Regions from separate parts of the Homo sapiens genome. Here region 1 is linked to region 2. Evidence: promoter capture Hi-C in human tissues and cell types (Jung and others, 2019). All regions are on one chromosome and are shown on one strand. The core of a region is centred on a gene start or on the middle of the fragment in contact, and the rest is flanking DNA. Distances in the headings are between cores, read along the strand shown. Region 1 holds the start of ZFHX2 (zinc finger homeobox 2). Region 2 has its middle 12 kb from the start of CARMIL3.

Evidence for each region. Contacts are between HindIII fragments. The study calls those that stand out against the background at their distance.
Region 1: the fragment with the promoter of ZFHX2 here is called in contact with a fragment that was not itself captured in region 2 in 2 of the 25 tissues and cell types used here (bladder and dorsolateral prefrontal cortex).

What each region holds. Positions count from the first base shown.
Region 1 is chr14:23,546,596-23,554,279 of GRCh38, reverse strand. ZFHX2 (zinc finger homeobox 2) reads left to right here and starts at 2,515. Exons shown (of 10, transcript NM_033400.3): 1 at 2,515-2,937. It also overlaps a transcript of THTPA not described here. RefSeq lists enhancers at 2,162-2,211, 3,061-3,723, 5,847-6,470 and a silencer at 2,342-2,581. The HindIII fragment of the contact is 20,255 bases long and covers 1-7,475 here.
Region 2 is chr14:24,037,205-24,042,809 of GRCh38, reverse strand. It overlaps the pseudogene DHRS4L1. Among named protein-coding and RNA genes, the nearest start is that of CARMIL3, 12 kb to the left of the region's middle. The HindIII fragment of the contact is 6,357 bases long and covers 1-5,076 here.

The sequences.
Region 1 (7,684 bases), core at 1,266-3,765, 490 kb after region 2:
CTGCTTTTCATCCATCTTTTGCTTTCCGGTTTTGTTAACCTGGGATGAAGACCTAATTTTTCCTTATGTTATAAGATCCAATCCAGTGGGGCAAAAGCAGCAGCTTATTTGAACAGAAAGACCAGTTTCCGGAGCCAGACCTGAGGTCGACTCCCAGCTTCACTTTCTAGATGTTTGGCCTTCCGCAAGCTACTCCACTTTCCTAAGCATCTGCTTTTTTTTTTTTTTTTTTTTTTTTTTTGAGACAGAGTCTCACTCTGGCGTCTCAGCTCACTGCAACCTCTGCCTCCTGGGTTCAAATGATTCTCCCGCCTCAGCCTCCTGAGTAGTTGGGACTACAGGCACGTGCCACCCCACCCTCCTAATTTTTGTTTGTTTGTTTGTTTGAGACGGAGTCTCGCTTTGTCGCCCAGGCTGGAGTGTAGTGGCGCCATCTCGGCTCACTGCAAGCTCCGCCTCCAGGGTTCATGCCATTCTCCTGCCTCAGCCTCCCAAGTAGATGGGACTACAGGTGCCCACCACCATGCCCGGCTAATTTTTTGTAATTTTAGTAGAGATGGGGTTTTACCCTGTTAGTCAGGATGGTCTCGATCTCCTGATCTTGTGATCCACCCGCCTCCACCTCCCAAAGTGCTGGGATTACAGGTGTGAGCCACCACGCCCGGCCTGTTTTTGGTTTTGAGACGGAGTTTCACTCTTGTTGCCCAGGCTGGAGTGCAATGGTGTGATCTTGGCTCACCGCAACCTCTGCCCCCCGGGTTCAAGCGATTCTTCTGCCTCAGCCTCCCGAGTAGCTGGGATTACAGGTGCCCACCACCACGCCCAGCTAATTTTGTATTTTTAGTAGAGACAGGGTTTCACCATGTTGGTCAGGCTGGTCTCGAACTCCTGACCTCAGGTGATCTACCCACCTCAGCCTCCCAAAGTGCTGGGATTACAGGAGTGAGCCACCATGCCCGGCCAGCCTCTGCTTTTTCATTGAGAAAATGTGGCCTGCCTCACAGTTACCTGTGAGGATTCAGTCATAAACTGTCACATAGTATAAACTCAAAATGTTCATTTATCTCTCCTTTTTGTCATGTGAACTTCAGGGTTTTGTTGTGTTGTTTAAGAGAAGTAGGCTATAGCAGTTAGTATGGGCCCTGGAGCCAGACCATGGAGGTTTTTGAGTCCTGGCACTGTCACTTACTTATTGGCCATTGGACCTTGGGCCTGTTAATTCACTTGTTTGTGCCTTAGTTTCCTCAATAAATGAGACTATAATAGCATCTACCTCATGCTTGAGGTATTGAGAGGAGTAAACAATGTATGTAAAAGTGCTTGGAACTGTCCCTGTGCATTCAAGAAATCTTAAAAATTATTATTAGAATACAGGAGCGGCCGGGTGAGGTGGATCACCCCTATAATCCCAGGACTTTGGGAGGCTGAGGCCGGTGGATCACCTGAGGTCAGGAGTTCGAGACCAGCCTGGCTAAGATGGTGAAACCCCCGTCTCTACTAAAAATACAAAATTAGCAGGGCATGGTGGTGGGCACCTACAATCCCAGCTACTTGGGAGGCTGAGGCAGGAGAATCACTTGAACCTGGGAGGTGAAGGTTGCAGTGAGCCGGGATCATGCCACTGCACTGCAGCCTGGGCGACAGAGTGACTCTGTCTCAAGAAAAAAACAAACAAACAAAAAAACGGGCTGGGCGCGGTGGTGGTTCACACCTGTAATCCCAGCACTTTGGGAGGCCGAGGCAGGCGGATCACAAGGTCAGGAGTTCGAGACCAGCTTGACCAACGTGGTGAAACCCCGTCTCTACTAAAAATACAAAAATTAGCTGGGTGTGTTGATGCATGCCTGTAATCCCAGCTACTTAGGAGGCTGAGGTAGGAGAATCGCTTGAACCCGGTGGTGGAGGTTGCAGTGAGCCGAGATCGCACCACTGCACTCCAACCTGGGCGACTGAGTGAGACTCCGTCTCCAGAAAAAAAAAAAAAAAAAAAATTCAGGAGCACTTAATAAGCGATAAACTGAAGATGAGGAGGAGCCCGAACCTCCCCCAACCCAGCTCAGGGGACTATGTAACCGTGTGGAGGAGGCAGAAGCTCTCAGAGACTAAAGAGTAATTGCTGCGGTAGAGAAGGTTCTAGTACCCAATTTCGCGGGGGGAGATGGGGGAGGCGGAATAATAAGGCAGGAAGAAGAGAATGAAAAAAGGAGGCCTTGGGCGGCTCAGGGCTTGTTCTGAAGCTGATTTAAAACAAAACAACAAAACACATGTATGGTTTCTGCAGGCCACAGGATGAAGAGGAGAGGAGACGGAAAAGAGTTTAAAGGGGCCTGCCCTCTTTGCAGGCACCGGCTTGAACCTGGAGGCGACCTGGTGGGCTGGCCGGCCTGCCCCCGGCCCTGGGTCCCGCGAGGCAGGCGGGCGGGCGCGAACAGACTACAACTCCCGGCATGCGCCGCGGCGGGCGGGTCGCTGCACCTGCTCAGTGGGGCAGCCCCGGGCGCCTGGGTATTGATTATTCCATTGTGTGGGACGCCTAGACTCCAGCCAGTGAATGAGGCGGAGGAGTGAGGGCGAGGAGGAGGAGGAGGAGGAGGGCGAGGAGGAGAAGGAGGAGGAGGAGGAGGAGGCAGGGAGCGAGCGAGTGCCCAGGGTGAATCAATGGAAACCCCCTCACGAAGCCGGGGAAACACTTCAGCCGCAGCCAAATAGCATTGATTATTTTCCTTCACTTCCCTCACCGCCGTGAATTTATTTATTTATTTTTTTCCGTCTCCGTCCCTGACGCCCCGGAGCGAGCGCTGGAGGGAGGGAGGAGGAGGGGAAAAAAGAGGAATCAACACATCGGAGAAGTCCCTTCCAAGAGCCGCCCCCTCCCCTCCCCGCCTCGCGCTGCTCGGTGGCCGCGGTTCGACTCCCGTCCCTGCTTCCAGCTGAGGTGTAAGTGCATCGATTTCCGATGCTGCTGGGTTGGTTTTTTTCTCCTCTCCCTCTCTCTCTTCTTCCCTTCCTTGCTCTTTGGAAGCTCGAGACGGGAGAGGAGGCGCTTGGAGACTGCCGCTGGAGGGGACGGAGAGGGACGGGAAGGGGCTGGGGGAGGGGACAAGGACGGACGGACAGACAGACCGAGAGCCCTGGGAGATAGCAGACAGGGGTGTGGGAGGAAGAGGGCGTGCGCGAGGATGGGGGAAGAGAGATGCGGGGGTGGAGGGAGAAACGGGAACGGGAAAGGCAGAGGCCCGCCGGACAGACGAAGGGTATGGAAAGCCTAGACGGACCGCGCCGAGTTGGGCAGGGAGCGGGGATCCCGGGGGGAAGGGGAGGCCCGGTGAGTGTGAGGGCTCAGAGCTGTCAGCCTGGAGGGTCCTGGGTCTCGGCGGCCCCCCGCCGGCTGTGGGATGGGAGAACCGCGGCCGGCGGGCTGATGGATGGGCTAGCGCGCTGGGGCGTGGAGTGGGAGGGGACGTGGATACTCTCAGTCTTCGTTCGTTTTTGGCTGAAGTTGGGCTTTCCATTCCTTTTTTTGAAAGTGTTGAGTAGGTGAGGGGAGGCCATAAGCCCATTCAAGGTGAAGCGTGTCTGTCCTGCACGCCCATCCTACCACCCCCATCCGCTCGTCTGCCCCTCTGAGCAGCCCTATCATTTTCAAGCACAGGACCACGCTTCCTCGCTGTGCCTGTAGCCCCGCTGATCTCTGTCCATGTGTCCCTGACTTTTGGTTTTGCTGTTCTTCATCTTGTCTCTTCCATCCCATCCATCTCTGGATCTGTATGTCACTGTCTCCACTTGTGACCCTTCCCATCTGAGTGATCCTCTCCTTGTGTGTCTCTATCACTATGTGTCACGCCTTGGCTGCCTGTTCTGTCGGTCTAGGATTCCATGCCCTCTCCTTCAGAGTCTGTCTGGATATCTCTGGCCTTTTCAGGCTACTTTGGAATTTGCTTATCAGTCATGATTGTGGTGGTCACAGTCAGGGCCTGGAGGAGTGGGATGATGGAGCAAATGTGTCTTCGCCAAAGCCTCTAGTGCCTTCAGCATGGCCAGGACAGCCTCCTCTTCCACCATCACCAGAGAAGCTTTGGAACTTCCTAGCATTGTTGACTGTCCCCTTTGCCATGTGCCTGTCTCCCTCATCAGAACCTCACCTTCTGGTCTCATGCGTGTCATCTGCCTTTCCAGGAGCTTCGCACAACAAAACCTCTTCCCTGCTGACTTAATTTTACTCCCTTCCCCCACTGTATCATTGTATATTTTTTATTTCCCCATTTTGCTTCACCCCTTTTTTCCATCTGTTTCCCATGAGCTCTGAGTTTCCACCTTTGTTCCCATAATCTGCCCTCTTCCTACCTTTTCTTCTTGATCACCCTAAGTTTCTAGTTTCTTTTATCCCTTTTCCTCTTATCCAGCATTTTAACCCCAGCAGCAGAAAGTACCAGCAAGCAAAGGGCTGGGAGAGGTGTGGGGTATGGTTTGTGAAGGCACATAAACAGGCCAAGAAATAAATTTAATGAGCTTCCAGGGGCATATAACCCCTCCATCAGTCAGTGCCATTATGTCAGTTAACTGTCAACTTTGATTTTGTAAGGGGACATTCCCTAGGACTCTAAGCTCCACCCTGCCTGGTTGCCCCCCATCCTTCAGTTCATTCTAGATATCAGTTGCTTTTTCTTCACTTTTTAGTTCATCTTCTTCCTAGGCCCCTGCTACTATCATATTTAGATCCAGCACCATTTTTTTTTAATGAGGCAGTGTTTATTAGTGTAATAAAAGCTATCGTATGTAAGGAGCCAAGTTCATTTAGCCTGAAGAACAGTAAGGGTGGATAAAGGATCTGGAGAGTTTACCTTAGTTTTTAGCCCATCATTGTTTTTCCAAACCTCAGGAGCTTGGAAAGGTAAAAGGAGCAGGCAGACATGGGCAGAAGATGGACGATTTCAGAGGTGAACAGAATTAAAGAAAGAAAGGGGTGGTCGGTGCAATAAACACATGGGGTAGAGAAATGTATGACGTGAGGGATGTGCAAAGGAAGGGAGGAAAATCTATGCGGACTCGGGGGCAGGGGAGGAACCAAGGGGTGATTAATAAGAAATTGGAAGAATGAAACAAAACGTGTTGATAGCAATACAGAAGGTAAAAGGAAGAGAAATGATAGAATATTCCTAAAGTGGAGGTCAACAGAAAAAGCACTATGAAATTAATACAGTAGTAAAGAGGGGGAAGGGAGGAATTGCTGAACAAGATGAGATGGGAAGAGAGTATGGTACAAAGAAGGTAAATGGATGGCAAACGAAGGAGTGCTGAGGCAGATCAGAGCTGCACAGAGCTTGGTAGGAGGAAAAGAGGAGAGGATGAGGTATCAAAGGAAACAAATGCCTCTGGTGTGAGGAGGACACAGCGTGACTGATGCGAAGAGAGCGAGAGCACTGCGGGGGCGCCGGGGGGTTGGAAAAAAAGCATAGCACAAATAGCAGGAATACCACTGGGCGAAGCCCCAGAAGAGAGAAATGCCCAAGAGAGGGAGAGAAAGCAGAAATATCCAGGGAAGAGACAGAGAGAGAGAGAACCTCACGAGCATTCATTTCATTGGCCTAATCACTCACTACCCCCACGAAAGGCCTTTGTATTTCATTCCCAAGCCAGAACACAAGCAAAGAGATGAAAAAGTAGAATTCCCATAAACTTCAGCTGAGAGGAACTTGAATCTTCCCAGCCCCTGAGAACCAAAGACCTCAAGCCTCTGATGTCATAAATTGCTGGTATTGCCTTGGCAACCTGACAGGGTTCCTCCCTCCATGATGTCAGAGGCAGCTGGTGTTACCTTGAGACCCATACAGGAATCACTTGCTGCTTTGCCGGGGTGCTGTATCACCTACGGGCCAGGGCCTGGGTCGAATTGGTAGGATTTCTGACTCTGGTAGCTTGACCTTGCCTCCCTGGAGCTCTTCCCAGCTCAGAACAACAGTTGTCACAAATAACTCCTGTTTGTGAGCACCTGAGGTTTGCTAGAGCCTGACAGTAGCAAGAGGAAGGAACCTAAGACAGGGCATTGAGGTCAGGATGGTTGGATCAAAAGGCAGGCAGAGACGGAAGAGGAGGACTAGAAATGGCAGTTACAGAATGTGAAAGGAGAAGGGCTTTGTGAGTGGGGAGGAGAGTTGTTGAAAGTGTAATGGCTTTGGGTTTAGGAATGGAGACTAAAGCTAGAATGCAGAGGGAAGGGATCGGGGCTGTGTGAGTGTAAACTCATTCAGGGATTGAGAAAAGGGAAGGGTTGTGAAATGCCAGAGGGCACAGTGGAATTTGGCTGTACAGAAAGGGGGGAAATGGGACAGAGTCCCCTAGTCTGAGAGACTTAGCTGTCTGGTGAGAGACTCAGGGTTAGTCACATGGTCATCTGAGGAGTGGCTACATCTGTCTAGTTTCCAATTGTTTTCCAGCACCTAGCACAGTGTCTGTCACACAGAAAAGGCTTAATAAATATCTACTGATCAAACGTTGAATTAGTAGGGAGAGGCTGGGGGAAAGAGTTGCCCACCTAATTTTCACCCACTCCCCCCACCTAAGTCTACATTAATGGGCAAACTGGGAAATCAGAAACCGGAGGGAATGGCTGGAGGGTAGTTAACCAGTGACAGTGAGATCTGAGGCAGACAGGAGAGACTGGGTTAGGGTCACACTTGGAGGCAGCCAGGGGAACTCTCAGGGCTCATGTGCAGAGTCTTTGTAGTGATAATTGGAGGAAAACATGAATGAACAGCCCTAGGAGCCCAAGAGGAAGATGTGGAGGAGGGAAGAGAAAGGAGGCGGTTTCCAGAAAAGGTTGAGAGTTGTTTCCAAAGAGAGAGTTGGCAAATGTGAATTAAAAGTAGCATCCCCACCCCATTCCCAATCATGAAACTACAATTGAATTGGTCATAACCGTATATATACAATGGCCGCAAATAAGGAGTTCATAAATCAATACCAGACCCATTCTAAACACCTATCCCAAGCCAGGTAATTATTAATACAACGAAGGCAGCATTGGCCATGTGGGCCAAAAGGCCAAAGGAGGGAGAAGTTACTGCTGCCCAGATCTTGATGTAAAGAACCCTGTGAGGGATGGCCTTGACATCTGACTCTCCATTGTTGAAAGACTCCAGAGGTATCTAGAAGAGGGGGAGGCAAGAGATGTAAAACTCACCACAACTCTCAGAGCAAAATCTGCAGAAAGAGGAGGTCTAAATACACAGAAGCTATAGAAAACAAACATGCACCCAATCAGGAATCACGAGGTGAAGGGCCAAAAAGCCCCTGAATGGGTTGAGAAATCTACAAAAGAAGACAGGGGAGAGAGCTGGGAGTGCTGGAGGACAGTCTGGCTATAATAAGCAAGGCCAGGGCAGCTAAAGAAGGGGCTGGTGGGCGGGGGGCCTGAAGGAAGGACAGTGGTGGCTGTTGCACTGTCAGCCACCGCCACGGAGTTGGGCAGCTCATATTTTGCAGCAAGCGACAGGCTGTCGACACAGTGGTCCTTTACCTCACCGTTAGAAACTCATTTCATTGATTTTTCCATCTTTCTTCTCGAGCTCCTCACACTAAGCTCGGTCAGCCCACCACCCACTTTCCCAGAGCCCCTTGCCTCTCTGGGGAAAGTCCTAGGGAACTGCCTGCCCATCCCTCCTCCCCAGGCTGGCAAGGCAGGGGT
Region 2 (5,605 bases), core at 649-3,148:
GTGTGTGGCATGTGGCAAAGACTCCTCACATTTACACTGCACTTGATAAACACATTCTAAAAGCAGACGGAGTTTGTTATCGATAGTGATAGGATATCAATAACTCCATGAAGCTTCATAGCCTAGGGAGAGGGGTAAGGTCTGGACCAGGGCTGCAGTAAGTAAGGGAGGTGCATTTATTCACGTTGATAAAAACTTCCTTCTGGGCGGGGCGTGGTGGCTCACGCCGGGAATCATGGCACTTTGGGAGGTCACGGTGGGAGGACCACTTGAACTGAGCAGTTTGAGAGAAGCCTGGGCAACATAGGGAGACCTTATCCCTATATTTAAAAAAACAACAACAATGACAACAACAACAACAACAAATCTTCCTTCTTAGGAACTATCGTCAAAATAACTTCTATTTCTTAAAACATCTTTTTTGAAAACTACCCTAAGATCTGCTGCTAACCATTTAAGGTTGGCTTCTTTCTTTTTTTAGATGGAGTCTTCCTCTGTCACCCAGGCTGGAGTTCAGTGGCATGATCCCAGCTCACTGCAGCCTTGACCTACTGGGTTCAAGCCATCCTCCTGCCTCAGCCCCCCAAGTAGCTGAGAATACAGGTGCGTGCCATCACACCTGGGCAATTTTTGTACTTTTTGTAGAGACAGGGTCTTGCCATGTTGCCCAGGCTGGTCTGGAACTCCTGAGCTAAAGCCATCCGCCTGCCTCGGCCTCTCAAAGTGTTACAGGTGTGAGCCACCAGGAAGTTGGCCTTATTTCTTTTGCAGTGTTTTCTTCCCACCTCCTATTCTTCTAAGGCTGTCTCTGACCCTATGCTCTTTTCTTTACATTTTCCCATTTGGGAGCTCCTTCATTCTCGTGATTTCAAATCTCACCCCAAAATCTATTTCCAGACCCCTCCTCTTCCTTTCACACTGAGTTCCACCCACATTTCTCCAAGTGCTTACTGTCCAGTTCTTCTTGAATAAGTTACCATTATTTCAAAGTCAATCTGGCCACACTTACCTGAATGGAAAAACTGGCTTAAATAGAGCTGTAGAAAGTTACCCTGGAGGGGCCTTTGAGATCATCTATTCCAATGTCCTTAAGGTGGAGATGATGAAACAGGTTCAGGGAATTTTCTCAAGATCATATAGTTCAGTAGTAACACACTGGGGCTAGCTAAGAACAGGAGGCCTGCTTATTCCGTGTTGGGGAAAGTGATTTGTTCAGGGCATAAAGCTAGTTAGTGGTGGAAGAACTGAGGTCAGTCTCCCACTTTGTAGCACAGAGCTAATTCGTAAGAGCCCTCTGAAAGTGAGCTGGGGTCATTAGGAAACCGGCTGCCCAGGAGAGCCATGATGGGAGAAGATACCAGCCTGAATTTAAAGCAATTCCATATTTGGTTATGATGTCATTTTCCCTGTCTCTGTCTCTCTCTTTTGACCTGGAGGCATGAAAGATTCAAGGCAGAAAGGGAAATTTAAACTGAGAAAGCCAAGAAAGGCAACATCTCACCTCCTTAATAAGTTATAAGTAGGTAGTGAGGCATGTGCTAGAGTAATGAATGGCCAAGCAGAATCTGCCAACAAGGGTTTTCAGTACAAAGCCACCCTGAAACCAGACTTTGCATTTGCCTGGAACTGGCAATTTTGATGCCTTGGGCAAGTAGCAGTACATGGGCCCTTGGTCAATTTTGTGCTCCGGATTTGGCCCACGGAGGGGTGTTATTAACAATGTACACCATCTGCTAGCTTCCCATTTTAACTAATTATTCTTGTTAACTAGGTGCTAACCTTCAACACAGTTGAAGAAATGCCTGGGCTGTCAACGTGTAAATCTAACAAAATTTAAAGTCAAGTACTCTTTTAAAACCAGTATGAATACTTTCTTGCACCCTTTAAATTTTGGTATCCTGGCACAAAGCCAAGTCACCTGCCTTGGCTCTGTGTAAGTCTCACCAATGTACTTGTTACTAGGGAGGTGCAGAATAAGTTAATAAGTGATGTGTGCTGTGCTCAGTGCACGTGTGTTTGGGCTGGGAGAAGACAGTGGATTGCTCCAGAATCACCTGGAGACATTTTCTACTCTGCTGCATACCCCATGCCCCTCTACTTCCAGGTCTGTCAGCACAGAGATGGGAGGAGGCTGGGTTTTGAATGAACAGAGACAGCAAACCATAAAAGATGAATGAGGCTGGGTGTGGTGGCTCACACCTATAATCCTAGCACTTTGGTACGGCCAGTAGGGAGGACCGCTTGAGGCCAGGAGTTCAAAACCAGCCTGGGCAATAAAGCCCCAACTCTACAACAAATTTAAAAGATGAACTGGCGTGGTGGTGCATGCCTATAATCTTAGCCACTTGGGAGGCTGACGGGGGAGGACTGCTTGAGCTCAAGAGTTGGAGGTTACAGTGAGCTATGATCATGCCACTGCACTCCAGCCTGGGCAACAGAGTGAGGCCCTGTCTCTGGGGGGAAAAGAAAAAGATGTCTTCTAAGTGTTCTAAATTGTGTGATCACTACACTAAAGTGGTTAGGAGCTGTTTGTTCTGTGTTCTGATAGTTATACATTTTTAAGAAAAAATATAATCAAGCAGATAGGCAGCTACTCTGGTTTCCACTTACAACACCAGTGAGAAGCTTCGTGGTGTGCAGATGAGGAGGCCACTGGGTAGTATCCATTCTCAGGGCAGTGGCTTTTCTCATTGCAGGGTAACATGTGACAACTGGCAGAAGACATTTCAAATTGCTGACAAGTATTCTATCATTCTCCTCTCTGACAATGGTCATACAAACTACCTGAGAGTCATTTTTGACTTCTCTATTTCCCACTTTTTGACATGGGGTTGGAAAATCTTGGTTCGTTTCCACTGAATGTCTCTTGGGCACATCTATTCCAGTCCCACCGCCACTGCTCTAAACCTGGACGACAGCAACAGCTTCCTCACTGATGCCCTGGATTTGGTGTCTCCTCTGTATATCCTTCCTACCAGAGCCAGATTAGCTTTCCTAATAACCATCTTTCTCTTGCTCAAAACCTCACATGGCTTCTTATTTGCTACAAGAGTGTGTAAACATATCCTTTTAAGAGGCTATATCCTTTTAAGGTCCTTAACGTATCCTTTTAAGAAGCTATGGCCGGGCGCAGTGGCTCACGCCTGTAATCCCAGCACTTTGGGAGGCTGAGTGGGTGGATCACCTGAGGTCAGGAGTTCAAGACCAGCCTGGCCAACATGGTGAAACCCCGTCTCTACTAAAAATACAAAAATTAGCTGGGCATGGTGGTGGGCACCTGTAATCCCAGCTACTCAGGAGGCTGAGGCAGGAGAATTGCTTGAACCTGGGAGGCAGAGGTTGCAGTAAGCCGAGATGGTGCCACTGTACTCCAGCCTAGGCGACAAGAGTGAAACTCCGTCACAAAAAAAAAAAAAAAAAAAAAAAAAAAAAAAAAAAAAAGATATGGAGGCCCATGGCCTCTATCTTTCCAATGCAGCCCCTTCCCCAGCAGTACTCCTGAGCCTGTGCTCTCCATTGTGGCCTGACAGTGCTCCTCTCTTTCCTTCAGTTCCTCCTTGGCTGTCTGCTCATTTTGCAGAGTTATCTGGAACCTCGTCACTATTCCATCTGTCCATTCCCATCCATTCCTTAAGGTTTAGCTCAAGTACCACCTCTGGGCCAGGCCTGTAGGCCATGTTAAGTGAACCTGGTGGGGGCCACAGGATGTTTTCCCAACAGGGTTTTCACATTACATTGCTACTTACATGTGATATGGTTAGTCACTAATTGACCCAGACTCCCAAACGGCTCCTTCCACCATCAGGATCAAGGCCCCAATCTTGGGCTCTGTCCACCAGCCTAGGCCAGGCAAGGTGACTTTCTAGGACTCACATTTGGCTCTTTCCAATGCACATTTGAGCATTTGCCAGACAGTTCCTTAAAAACGGAATTACCCTATACTGTCTACCATGCTACTGTCTACTATTGCTTAAGATCCTCCTCTTCTAAGATTATGCAAATTATTTCTGCCAACCTTCCAATCTGTTAGCACAACCCTGTACTTTCCATTTTTGGGTAGATTCTCCCTTCCACTCTGGAAAATAAAGTGTGTATCCTGAGCCTCAAGGGAAGAGGAGCTTGCTTTGCTGGATGGTTCATATTTCCTTCGGCAGCTGGAAGGCTGGTATCCACTACTAACTGTGACACTGACTTATATACTTTCTTTGAGACTAAAGTCCAGTACCTGGTAGTCCACAGGCAGCCAATAAAGGAAGGGAGCTTGGGAGGTCTGGGTCTTTCCTTACTGGCTGTGGGACCTTGGGAAGTTGCTCCAGCTATCTGAGCCAGCGTCTGCAGACCGAGAGAATAGTCCTTGCCTTGCTTGGGTTGTTGTCAGGTCTAGAGATAACCTGTGTAAGGCTCTGAACACAGGAAATGGCACATAGTAAGTGGTTGAAACATGGTGGGCTGCTTCCTGAAGTTCCCAGGGACTTGACTCTGTAAGCTGAAGAAGAGGGGAATGTTTATTAGCTCATGGGTGGGAACATCTATTTTGTGATTGTATTTACCCTTCTCATCTGTCCAGTTAGGTTGAAAATTACTGGAGAACCAGTACCAGCGGTTTCTTTGGGGTATGCAAGGGATGATGCAGGGTTGAAGCATTAGAATGTTTTAACATTCTCTGATTGGGATGGGATTATTCTCCAACTTTAATATATGGACATAATAGAAAGGCACACAATAAAAACGTGCTGGTGGGCTGGTTGGGTATGCAGAACACACTGTTATGTTTTAGTTAACATCACTGCGTTGGATCTCACCAATGCTGTCCAGGAAAGCAGGGAAGGAGGCTCAGGCTGGCTCCCTTTTCCACCTCCTGGCTCTGTGCCCATTTCCCTGCAGCTCACTGTGGCCACCAGCCGCTCCCAGTCCTTCATCTTCCCCACATGGCACACAGTGCCCGTCATGCTCAGCCCCTCCCCCTGCAGCGTGGCCACTGCCTGGTCCACATTCTGCTGCTTCCGGCGGCTGACTACCACGTGGGCCCCGTCTTGGGCCAGACGCTGGGCGACGGCGAAGCCGATCCTGTGAGCAGAGACAAAGACTGCTAAGGCTTGTGCAGGGGAAGAGATGGACAGCATGGGCTCTGAAGTTAGACTGCCCGGTTTTGAATTCTGGCTCTTTCTCTATATGACCTCCATGTGTCTCTACTACGTGTAAAACAGGCTTAATGGCACAGCCATTTTTGGCGTTCCTTTACTTATTTTTATTATCATCTTGGACTGCAGCCTCAGTTCCCAAGAACTGACATCACTTTCTACAGTTCCCACCATGGGTGACAGGCTTCATCCCCTCTTGGGACTGAGAGGTGAGAAATGAGCTGGGTTTGCAGCAGCAGCCACTTCCGTGATTTGAGGGTCTCACTCAGAACAGCCCTGCCTCCAGGTTTCTTTCTTACTAGTCTACATCATTCTGAAAATTCTATCCTTAATTATTTTTTGGGGTGCATGTGAAAAGATGGTCTCCGGTCAAAAATGTAAATATTGCCTTGGGAGGAAGAGTTACACATTTTGCACTTGTCAGCCATTAGCATTTTACCTACATTTGTATTTTAGTTTTGTGA